Regions from separate parts of the Homo sapiens genome. Here region 2 is linked to region 1. Evidence: promoter capture Hi-C in 16 types of primary human blood cells and fetal thymus (Javierre and others, 2016). All regions are on one chromosome and are shown on one strand. The core of a region is centred on a gene start or on the middle of the fragment in contact, and the rest is flanking DNA. Distances in the headings are between cores, read along the strand shown. Region 1 holds the start of SHPRH (SNF2 histone linker PHD RING helicase). Region 2 overlaps STXBP5 (syntaxin binding protein 5).

Region 1 (5,123 bases), core at 2,306-4,805:
AATCAAGGTGAACAAAGGTGAAATGATGCTGTGCTTATTTTTAAATATTTCTGCCTAGCACTAGTTGGATAGACTCAGCCAAACTTTGGGCCTAATTATCTGCTCCAATGATGAGAAGTGACATAAAACTATCAAAGATAACCTTACTCAGCACATCATATGTTTAAATAGCAAGTTGCAAATTACACTTTCAGAAGCAAGGTTACATCACCTTGTATTTGATAAAATGATTGGTTTGCCAAGGAAGGAGGATCCTACTTGCCCACTGTTCCAGCATTAGCACTACTTTTTCCAGCTTGCCTCATAAATCCTGGAATAAGGTAACTGATTTCCATCTATAGGCATACCTTGGAGATATCACAAGTTTTGTTCCAGGCTACCACAATAAGGCAAATATTGCAATAAAGTAAGTCACAGGATATTTTTTTTGTTTCCCAGTGCATATAAAAGTGACACTGACACTACAATGTAGTGTGTTAAGTGTGCAATAGCATTATGTCTAAAAAAAGTATCTACCTTAACTTAAAAAATATTGTATTGCTAAAAAAAATCTTGCTTAAAAAATATTGCTTAAAAAAGTTGGCTGCAGCAATTGACTCTTTATTTCACAAAATATTCCTCCATGATATGAACTGCTCTTTGATAGCATTTTACCAACAGTAGAACTTCTTTCAAAACTCAAGTCAATCCCCTTAAACTCTGGACTGCTTTGTCCACTAAATTTATGAAATATTTTAAAATCTTTGCTGTCATTTCAACAACGTTCACAGTATCTTCCCAGGAGTATATTCCATCTCAGGAAACCAGTTTCTTGGCTTATCTATAAGAAGTAACTCTTCATCCATTAAAGTTTTACTATGAGATTGCAGCAGTTCTGTCATATCTTCAGACCCCACTTCTAATTCTAGCTCTCTTGCTGTTTCCACCACATCTGCAGTTACTTCCTCCATTGAAGTCTCAATCCCTTCAAAGCTGAGACTTTGAGTTCCTGAGAGATGGAATCAACTTCTTCTAAACTACTATTAATGATATTTTGACCTCTCCCACCAATCTCAAATGTTGTTAATGACATACAGAATGGTGGATGTTTTCCAGAAGTTTTTAATTTACTTTGTCTAGATCTATCAGAAGAATTCCTATCTATGTCATCCATAGCCTTATTACTTCTTAAATAATAAGATGTCAAAGTTAAAATTACTCTTGATCCATGGGCTGCAGAATGGGTTTTGTGTTAACAGGCATGAAAACAACATTAATCTCCTTGTACATCTCCATCAGAGCTCTTGGGTGACCAGGTGCATTATAAATGAGCAGTAATATTTTGAAAGGAATCTTTTTTTTTTCTGAGCAGTAGGTCTGAACAGTGGGCTTAAAATATCCTGTACATCTATGCTGTTAAGTAGATGTGCTGTCATCCACACTTCATTGTTCCATTTATAGAGTACAGACAGAATAGATTTAGCATAACTCTTTAGGGCCCTAGGAGTTTCAGAATGATAAATGAGTATTGGCCTCAAATTCAAGTCATTAGCTGCATTAGCCCCTAACAAGAGAGTCAACCTGTCCTGTGAAGCTTAGAAGCTATGAAAGTCCTAGATGGCCTTTTCTTTCTATAGAAAGCTGTCTTATCTACATGGAAAATCTGTTGTTTTGTGTGGCCACCTGCTTCAATTATTTTAGCTAGATCTTCTGAAAAACTTGCCACAGCTTCTACATCAGCACTTGCTCCTTCACCTTGTACTTTGATGTTATGGAGATGGCTTCTTTTCTTAAATCTCATGAACCAACCTCTGCTTGCTTCACATTTTTCTGCTACAGCTTCATCACCTCTCTCAGCCTTCACAGAACTGAAAAAAGTTAGGGCCTTGCTCTGGATTAGGCTTTGGCTTAAGGGAATGCTGAGGCTGGTTTTATCTTTTATTCAGGCCACTAAAACTTTTTCCATATCAGCATGAGGCTGTTTCGTTTTCTTATCATTTGTGTTTTCATTGGAGTAGCACTTTTAATTCCCTTCTAGAACTTTTCCTTTGCATTCACAACTTAGCTAACTTTGGTACAAGAGGCCTAGCTTTTGGCTTATCTCAGCTTTTGACATGGCTTCCTCACTAAATTCCTTCGGTTTTCGATTTAAAGTGAGAGATGTGCCACCCTTCCTTTTACTTGAACACTTAATAGTCCATTGTAGGGTTATTAATTGGCCTAATTTCAATATTGTTGTGTCTCAAAGAATAGGGAGGCCTGAAGAGAGGAAGAGAGACAGGCGCCAATAGTGAAGCTTTCAGAACACACACAACATTTATTAAGTTTAGCATCTTCTATGAGCAGAGTTTGTAATGCTCCCAAAAAACTACAATAGTAACATCAAAGATAACTAATCATAGATCACCATAACAGATGAACAGCAAGTGAACACATGCTGCTTGAAAAATGATGCTGACAGACTTGCTTGAGTAAGGTTGCCAAAAAACTTCAATTTATAGGAAAACATATTATCTGCAAAGTACAATAAAGGGAAGCAAAATAAAAGGAGGCGGGGATTTGCTTATGGAAACAGCTTCGTATCTGTGATAAAGGAATATACTAAGTAAAATATGGACTACCCTGGACTGTCTAACACAACTACAACCGATATTCACTTGGACAAGAACTTAGTTCAAGTGCTTCTGTGGTCACACAACCCAAAAGGCCTCCACAGCAGAAAAGCTGCTATTAGGTACTCACTAACTAAGTACTGAGTCCCCAGTGTTTCCTGAGGGTTATTTCACAGGCTCCTGACCCTGAAGCCTCTCAGAGTTATTCCAACATTAAGGTCACTTCTATGAGGAAGAGGTGAGAGGAAAAAAGACCAATAGTGGAAGGCCAGCTTCAGCGCAACACATGTATTTAATAGTTTCTCTCATCTTTGAATATTTATTCACATTTCCCTTTAAAGTCTGTTTTTGAGGGGGAGAAGCTTTATTCGTACCTACTTAGTGGCTGCTTTATAGCAGTAAAATAGATGCTTTTGCAGAATTCTTTTCTGCTTTTCTTTTGTGAGACGGAGTCTCATTCTATCACCCAGTGGGGAGATGTCGGCTTACTCAATCTCTGCCTCGCAGGTTCAAGCATTCTCCTGCTTCAGCCTCCCGAGCAGCTGGGACTACAGGCGGGTACTACAGGCGCGCACCACAACGCCCGGCTAATTTTTGTATTTTTAGTAGAGACGGGGTTTCGCTATCTTGGCCAGGCTGTTCTCCAACTCCTGACCTCAGGAAATCCGCCCGCCTCGGCCTCCCAAAGTGGTGGGATTACAGGCGTGAGCCACCGCTCCTGGCCCCTGCCTTTTTATTAGAGATACAAATCACACACGCCCTTCGCTTCAAGGGGAGCCCCGCCCCCTACTTCGGGCATTCGGCCATCCTGTGTTCTCTAATGGCGTGGGGCAGAGCTATCGCGAGACTCCACTGTATCCTCAGCAAGTTTTTAACAGTGTGAACTTGCGCAGAAGAGACTCATGAAGCCAGCGCAGGAGAAAGGGGGCGGGGTGCTCTGACGAGCGCGTTCGCCTTGACCCCACGCTACAGCGCGCGCCCGGCAGCTAGGCGCTGTGGTTTCTGGGTCTCCCGGGGGACCCCTACACGTTCCGGCAAAAAGCGCTCGTGCCCACCTCAAGCCCATGTTCGGTGGGTGGCGAATGCGTGCCCGTGATCTGCTGGGTCTGTAGAGGAGCGCAGGCCTGGTGCAAACAGACTCAAGAGGCTCGGAGAACCAGCTTGGGTAGGCGCTTGGGTGATGGAAGGTCAGGGGTCAGAGGTCGGGAGGGAGGGAGGGAGGTGGTCTTTGGCCTCCGGGACCAGGGAGGGAGGACGCTGGTTGTCCTGGAGCCCGGGAAGCTCAAGGGCTGAGAGGGAGCCGCTGCGCGAGTCTTCCCCACCTCTTCCCGATCCCGGACTAGCGAACTTCGGACCACCACGTCCCTCCGGGGATAAAGTGGGGTCGTGGGAAAGGAGGCTGTGCTTCTCCTCATGCACTGGGGCCTGCGGTGTTTGTCTCGAGCGTCCAACACACTAGGATCCGGGAGTCCGTCGTCACGCTCCTTGGCCTCGCGGTCGCTTGTTTGCTCGGCCTGCTGGGAGCGATCCGGCGCTGACAGCCCCGCTCAGACTCCGGGAGCCGCTTGTGGGTCTTTCGGAAGATAACTGAGTGGGTACCGTGCGCCGCAGATCTACCCCCGGAGGCTGGAACTGGGTCGCCGCCTCCCTTCTTTGTGCGCGGCATTGTATTAGTAAAAGGGGAGGCAGAGGTTTCTCAGTCCCACTCAAAGTTCTCCGTTACCTTTGGAGCCAGATTAATTACATTCGAATTCAGAACCACTCTTTGACATTGTACAGTTTGACTGGTAGTTGCTATGTTTATGAACGAAGATAGGGTGTTATTTGATGATTAATAGTCACTGTATAATGATCAGTTAAATAATGACCAGGAAGCTTGTGCCCTTTTTCCAAGTAGTTTGACATTAGCACGAGGTAGAAATCCGAGATGTTTGATGCCTTCCAACTTGTACTTAAGGAACTTAAGGAACTTGGGGCTTTTTCTGAACAAAATAAGATAAAGTTATTACTGTTACTTTAAATTATTCCAGTGGGCATTAGTAGGAATGATGAAACTCTTGAATAGAAACGATCCATGATATCTCTACTGTCACAAAAAAGACTATTTAGTTTATGATTAGTAAACATGCTGGAGACAGAGCAGTCCTGAGCAGTATTGTAATGATTATGTCTGTGCTCGATAACCTGCACTTTCTAGAGCTTTAAAGGACCAGTTAACCAGTAAGCTGGCAATTGAGAATAAAATAGTTTACTTTTGAGAGATGCTCTTGTATATCCTCTTTGTCCACCCGAAAGGAGCTGGACTTACAGAATTATTAAAACAAAACTTTTATTATTAAGAGTTTAGGCCAGTAAGATTTAGGGGAAACAATTTGCTGGTGAAAAAGCTTCTTATGAGGGCATTTTTAAAGTTTATGTAACTAGCATATTTTAGCATTCAGTAGAAGAAAATACTCTCACCTTGCTGGAATTATTTCTACAGAAAAGGAAAAGATTATGTTAACCCTGGGTCATTAAGAGCTTCCTAGTACT
Region 2 (5,027 bases), core at 1,965-4,464, 1.3 Mb before region 1:
ATCACCTGCAACTTAATTTTTAAATTTTATTTTAATTTAGTTTAGTTTAGTTCGGTTTATTTTATTTTATTTATCTGGAGACACAGTCTCAGTCTGTCTCCCAGGCTGGAGTTCAGTGGTGCAATCACAGTTCCCTACGACCTCTGCCTCCCGGCTGTGAAAGTGATTCTAGTGCCTCAGCCTCCCAGTAGCTGGGATTACAGGCATGCACCACCATGCCCGGCAAATTTCTTTATTTTTAGTAGAGACAGGGTTTCACCATATTGGCCAGGCTGGTCTTGAACTCCTGGCCTCAAATGATCCGCCTGCCTTGGCCTCCCAAAGTGCTGAGATTACAGGCATGTGCCATCGCACCTGGCCAAGCCCTGCATGTTTAAGAATAGACTTTTCAACCATAATTAGACTTCAAGGTCTTTTATATTGCTCGTTCTCTTGACCAGTGATAAACTGCTAGGAAGGAAAAACACCATAACTCAAGACCTGGAACTCCAGTTCCTTTCCAAATATTTCACGTAACAGTTTCACAGCCCTGTCTCCAAAGGCAGTGGCAGAACAAAAAGGCAGTGTATTTCCTCATGGTTACACCACAGATCTCAAGATGTTATGACTGCTTTAAAACGACATCCTCTCTATATACAGTAATTAACATGTTTCTTTTCTACCATCTGCCTAAGAATACTGCTACCCAGCCTGTCAAACACTTAAACCAGTATTTCTCAATTTTGGCTCTATATCACAAGCATCCACAAAGATTTAAAAAACAAAAAATTACAGATGTCATGCCCCTTGCCATACTCACTGAATCAGAAGCTCTAAAGAAGAAATCCAAGCATGTTTGGGCATTGTTTGTACATTTTGGTTTTTTCAGCTCCACAAATTATTCTAATGTATAGCCATAGTTGAGAAACACTGGGAAACCTTGTGGACATAAGTATAATTAAGCATTACCTTCCCTAAATAATCTATTTATATACATATAATCTATTAAATAACTTCTCTGATTTCCTTTTTTTCTAATTGAATAATCATGAATTCCCTATCTCCTCCCAGGTCTTATTTTCCAAATGTTTAATAATTTTCTACTCTCATCTAAATTAGCTTCTGACTGACTTAATAGAAATATGCTCAAAACAACAGTTTAGTAAGTCTTTACCAAAGATGAACATAATGAAGAGCACTTCATTTTGTATATTATGGGCTATGAATGTGCTTGCAATCCAAAGCCTTTGCCAACTGATTAATTACAGTTTTAGAGTACCCCATTCCATAGTTGCACCTACTTGATAAACGTCAGTTTTAAAACCTCTTTTTGAAGACCACCTATGTTTTCACCAATAAAAGTTAATATCAACTTCTCTTTTCCAGTGTAGTGTGTAAGGAGCATGGAAATCATTTTATCTTAACAAGAAGTAAAAAGCTGAACAAACTGGAAAATCAACAACTCTTCTTAAAGATCTGTAAGAGAAGTGAGACACAAGAAAAACCACTGCCCCCAAACTGGAAAGACAGACAGGTGGATACAGAGAATCACAACTTGCTGAAAGCAGAAACCCATAAGCACAAACCTCTGTGAAAACCTGTGTCCGGGTAAGGAAGCAAGCACTGTAACTGAGGAATAGCCGGAGGCTCAAAATAGGCAAGTCAGAAAGTCAAAAACTCCAGGGGAACCCAGTCATAGAGATGTCCCCACATCTTTGTAAATTTTACCTCTAAAGCTTGAGCAGGTTCTCACAATGAATATTGGAGAAAATTCCCTCATGCTACCAGCAGAGGGAAGAGAAAAGGCAACCATTTTTAAATATGCAAGAGCATATTCTGTTCTTAACAACAAGGACTGCCTTCAGAAATAACACTTTTACGAGAGCCTAACCTGCTGGGGTTTTATCAGGGACCAACTAACCTGAGAGAAGAAAAATCACTCCAGTGGGCCCAAGCCTTCCAAGTAAAGGAAGAGAAGTACGCAACTCCAGCCCACTTTAGCCATCTTATTCCACCTAAAAGGGAGTGGGAGGAAGTGTGGGGAGAAGAGATTAAGAAGCACTCCTGAAGTTCACAGTCCAAGAGCACAGACTCACTAAAAAACTGACACCTAATGACAGGACTATAGCACACTTCCCTTCCCCCCACACCATTACCAAAGGCCTATTTGCAGCAGTTCCTTTTACTTAGTACATCATGTCCCGATATCAGGAAAAAATTAAAAGGCAAAAAATACAGTTGGAAGAGATGGAGCAAGCATCAGAATCAGACTTCGAAATGGCAGTAATGTTGCAATTATCAGACTAGGAATTTAAAACAACCATGATTTATATGCTAAGGGCTCTAATGGATAAAGTACACAATACCAAACAACAGATGGGCAATATAAGCAGAACGATGGAAATTCTAAGAACCAGTCAAAAAGAAATGCTAGAATCCAAAAACACTTTAACAGAAGTAAAGAATGCCTTTGACAGACTCCATAGTAGTCTGGACACAGCTAAGGAAATAGTCTCTTAACCTGAGGATACCTCAACAGAAATGTCCAAAATTGAAAAGCAAAGAGAAAAAAAACTGGAAAAAAACAGAACAGAGTATCTGAGAACAGAGAGACAACAACAAAAGGCGTACATGTAACAGGAAAACCAGGAGAAGAGGGAACAGAAAGAAATATTTAAAGCAATAATGACTGTGAATTTCCTCTAAATCAATGTCGGATACCAACCACAAATTCGAGAAGCTAAGAAAATACCAAGCAGAATAAATGCTAAAAAAAAAAAGAAAGCTACACCTAGACATATTATATTCAAATTGCAGAAATCCAAAGATTAAAAAAAAATCTTGAAAGAAGCCATTGGAAAAAAACCCCTTACCAACAGAGGTGCAAAGATAAAAATTATTTCTGACTTCTCACAAGAAACCATGCAGGCAAGAAGAGAGAGAAATAAAACATTTAAAGTGCAGAAAGTTAAAAAAAAAAAAACTGGAATTCTGTACACTGCAAAATTAGCCTTCAAAACTGAAGAAGTAATGAAAACTTGCTCAAACAAAAACTGACAAAATGACCTGTGCTGCAAAAAATGTCAAAGTTGTTTTTTTCTTAAAGAAAATGACATAGATCAGAAACTCAGCTCTACATAAAGGAAGGCAGCATCAGAGAAATAGAGGCAAAAATAAAAACTTTTCTGTTTCTTAACTGATCTAGTAGTAATAGTTTCTTCAAAATAATAACAGCAACAATGTATCCAGTTTATGTATGTTTACATATATAAACACATATGCTTATATATAGGTGAAATGAATGACAGCAATGACATAAGTGATCAGAGTAAAGAATTACAATTTCTTTTTGTTATTACAAGGTACTCATATGACCTGTGAAGCAGTACAGTGTTCTTTCAAAGTAGACCCAGATTAACAGTAAATATATACTGCATATTCTAGAGCAACTATTTAAAAAAATAAAAGAAGTATAACTGATATGCTAAGAAACTGATATGCTAAGAAAGGAGAGAAAATGTGGAACCATATAAAATGGTCAATTAAAACCACAAGAGGCATAAAAAGAACGGGAAACAAAAATAGAAACAAAAACAAGGGCAACAAATAGAGAACAGTAACAAATATGGTAGGTATTATTTGAAGTATATCAACATTCACTTTAAACTTCAATGGCCTAAATGCACCAATTAAAAGACAGATTGTCAAAGTGGATCTAAAACTAAGACCCAGCTATACGCTGTCTGCAAGAAATTCACTTTAAATATAAAGACACATATAGAATAAAAGTAAATAGATGAAGAAAGATATGCCATGCTTTCACTAATCAAAAGAAAGCAAAGTAGCTATATTAATTTCAGACACAGACTTCAGACCAAGGAAAGTCATTAAAGTGGGGCATTACAAAATGAAAAAAGAGTCAATTCTCCAAGAACCACAACAATCCTTAAGGTGTATGCACCTAAGAACAGAGTGTCAAAATATATGAGACAAAAACTCATAAAACTGCAAGGAGAAATATATGAATCCGCTATTACAGTTGTAAACTTTAACATCCCTCTATCAGAAATGGACAGATCCAGCAGGCAGAAAAAAAGTGCCAACAGAGCTGAACTCAACACCATTCTTTACCAACTAGATATAATGGACATCTACAGTCTACGTTATCCAATAACAGCAAAACACACATTCTTCTCAAACTCACATGGAACATTAACCAAGACAGAATATATTCTGGGCCATAAAATATACCTCAAAAAATTTGAAAGAATAGAAACTATACAATGTCTGCTCTTGGAACATAATGGAAGTAAACTAGAAATCGATAACAAAAAGAGAGCTGGAAAATCCCAAAATATGTAGAGATTAAACAAAACAATTCTATTAACACTTGGGTCAAAAAAGATATTAAGAGAGAATTTTTTAAATGTTTTGAACTAAATAAAAATGAAAACAACTTATCAAAATTTATGGGAAACACAGAAAATAGTACTTAAAGGGAATTTATAGCATTGAATTCATATATATTAAAGAAGAAACAGGTAAAATCAATCACTTCTGCTTTAAGAAACTACAAAAAGAAGAGGAAACTGAACCCAAAGTAAACAGAAGAAAATAAATAATAACAGTTAAGGAAGAAATCAGTGAAACTGAATACAGGAGATCAAAAGAGAAAAATCAACAAAACTAAAAGCTGCTTCCTTCAAAAAAAAAAAAAAAAAAAAACAAGCTTCTAGCCATGCTAAGGAAAAAGGAGAGGGGACACAAATTACTAACATCAGAAATGAAAGACAGACATCACTTTAATTTCCATGGACATTAAAAGAATAAAGGAATACTAAAAACAAATCTATGCCCACAATTTTGATGACACAGATGAAATGGACCGACCAACTCCTTAAAAAATACAATCTACCAAAACTCAGACAAGAAGAAACAATCTGAATAGGCTTCTATACATTAAAGAAACTGAATCAATTAATAGATTCCCAAAATAGAAAGTACCAGGACCAGATGGGTTGACTGGTGAATTATAACAAGTTTCTAGT

What was found. Contacts are between HindIII fragments. The CHiCAGO score rates a contact against its expected background, and 5 or more counts as called.
Region 2: a contact is called between a fragment that was not itself captured here and the fragment with the promoter of SHPRH in region 1, in 2 of 17 cell types (activated CD4 T cells and fetal thymus). The highest score is 5.3, in activated CD4 T cells.

Annotation. Positions count from the first base shown.
Region 1 is chr6:145,962,790-145,967,912 of GRCh38, reverse strand. It overlaps SHPRH (SNF2 histone linker PHD RING helicase), which reads left to right and starts at 3,555. Exons shown (of 30, transcript NM_001042683.3): 1 at 3,555-4,182. RefSeq lists enhancers at 3,079-3,128, 2,680-3,667, 3,579-3,798, 3,909-4,038. The HindIII fragment of the contact is 1,513 bases long and covers 2,956-4,468 here.
Region 2 is chr6:147,219,477-147,224,503 of GRCh38, reverse strand. All of the region lies in intron 2 of STXBP5 (syntaxin binding protein 5), which reads right to left. Among named protein-coding and RNA genes, the nearest start is that of STXBP5-AS1, 17 kb to the right of the region's middle. The HindIII fragment of the contact is 2,993 bases long and covers 1,718-4,710 here.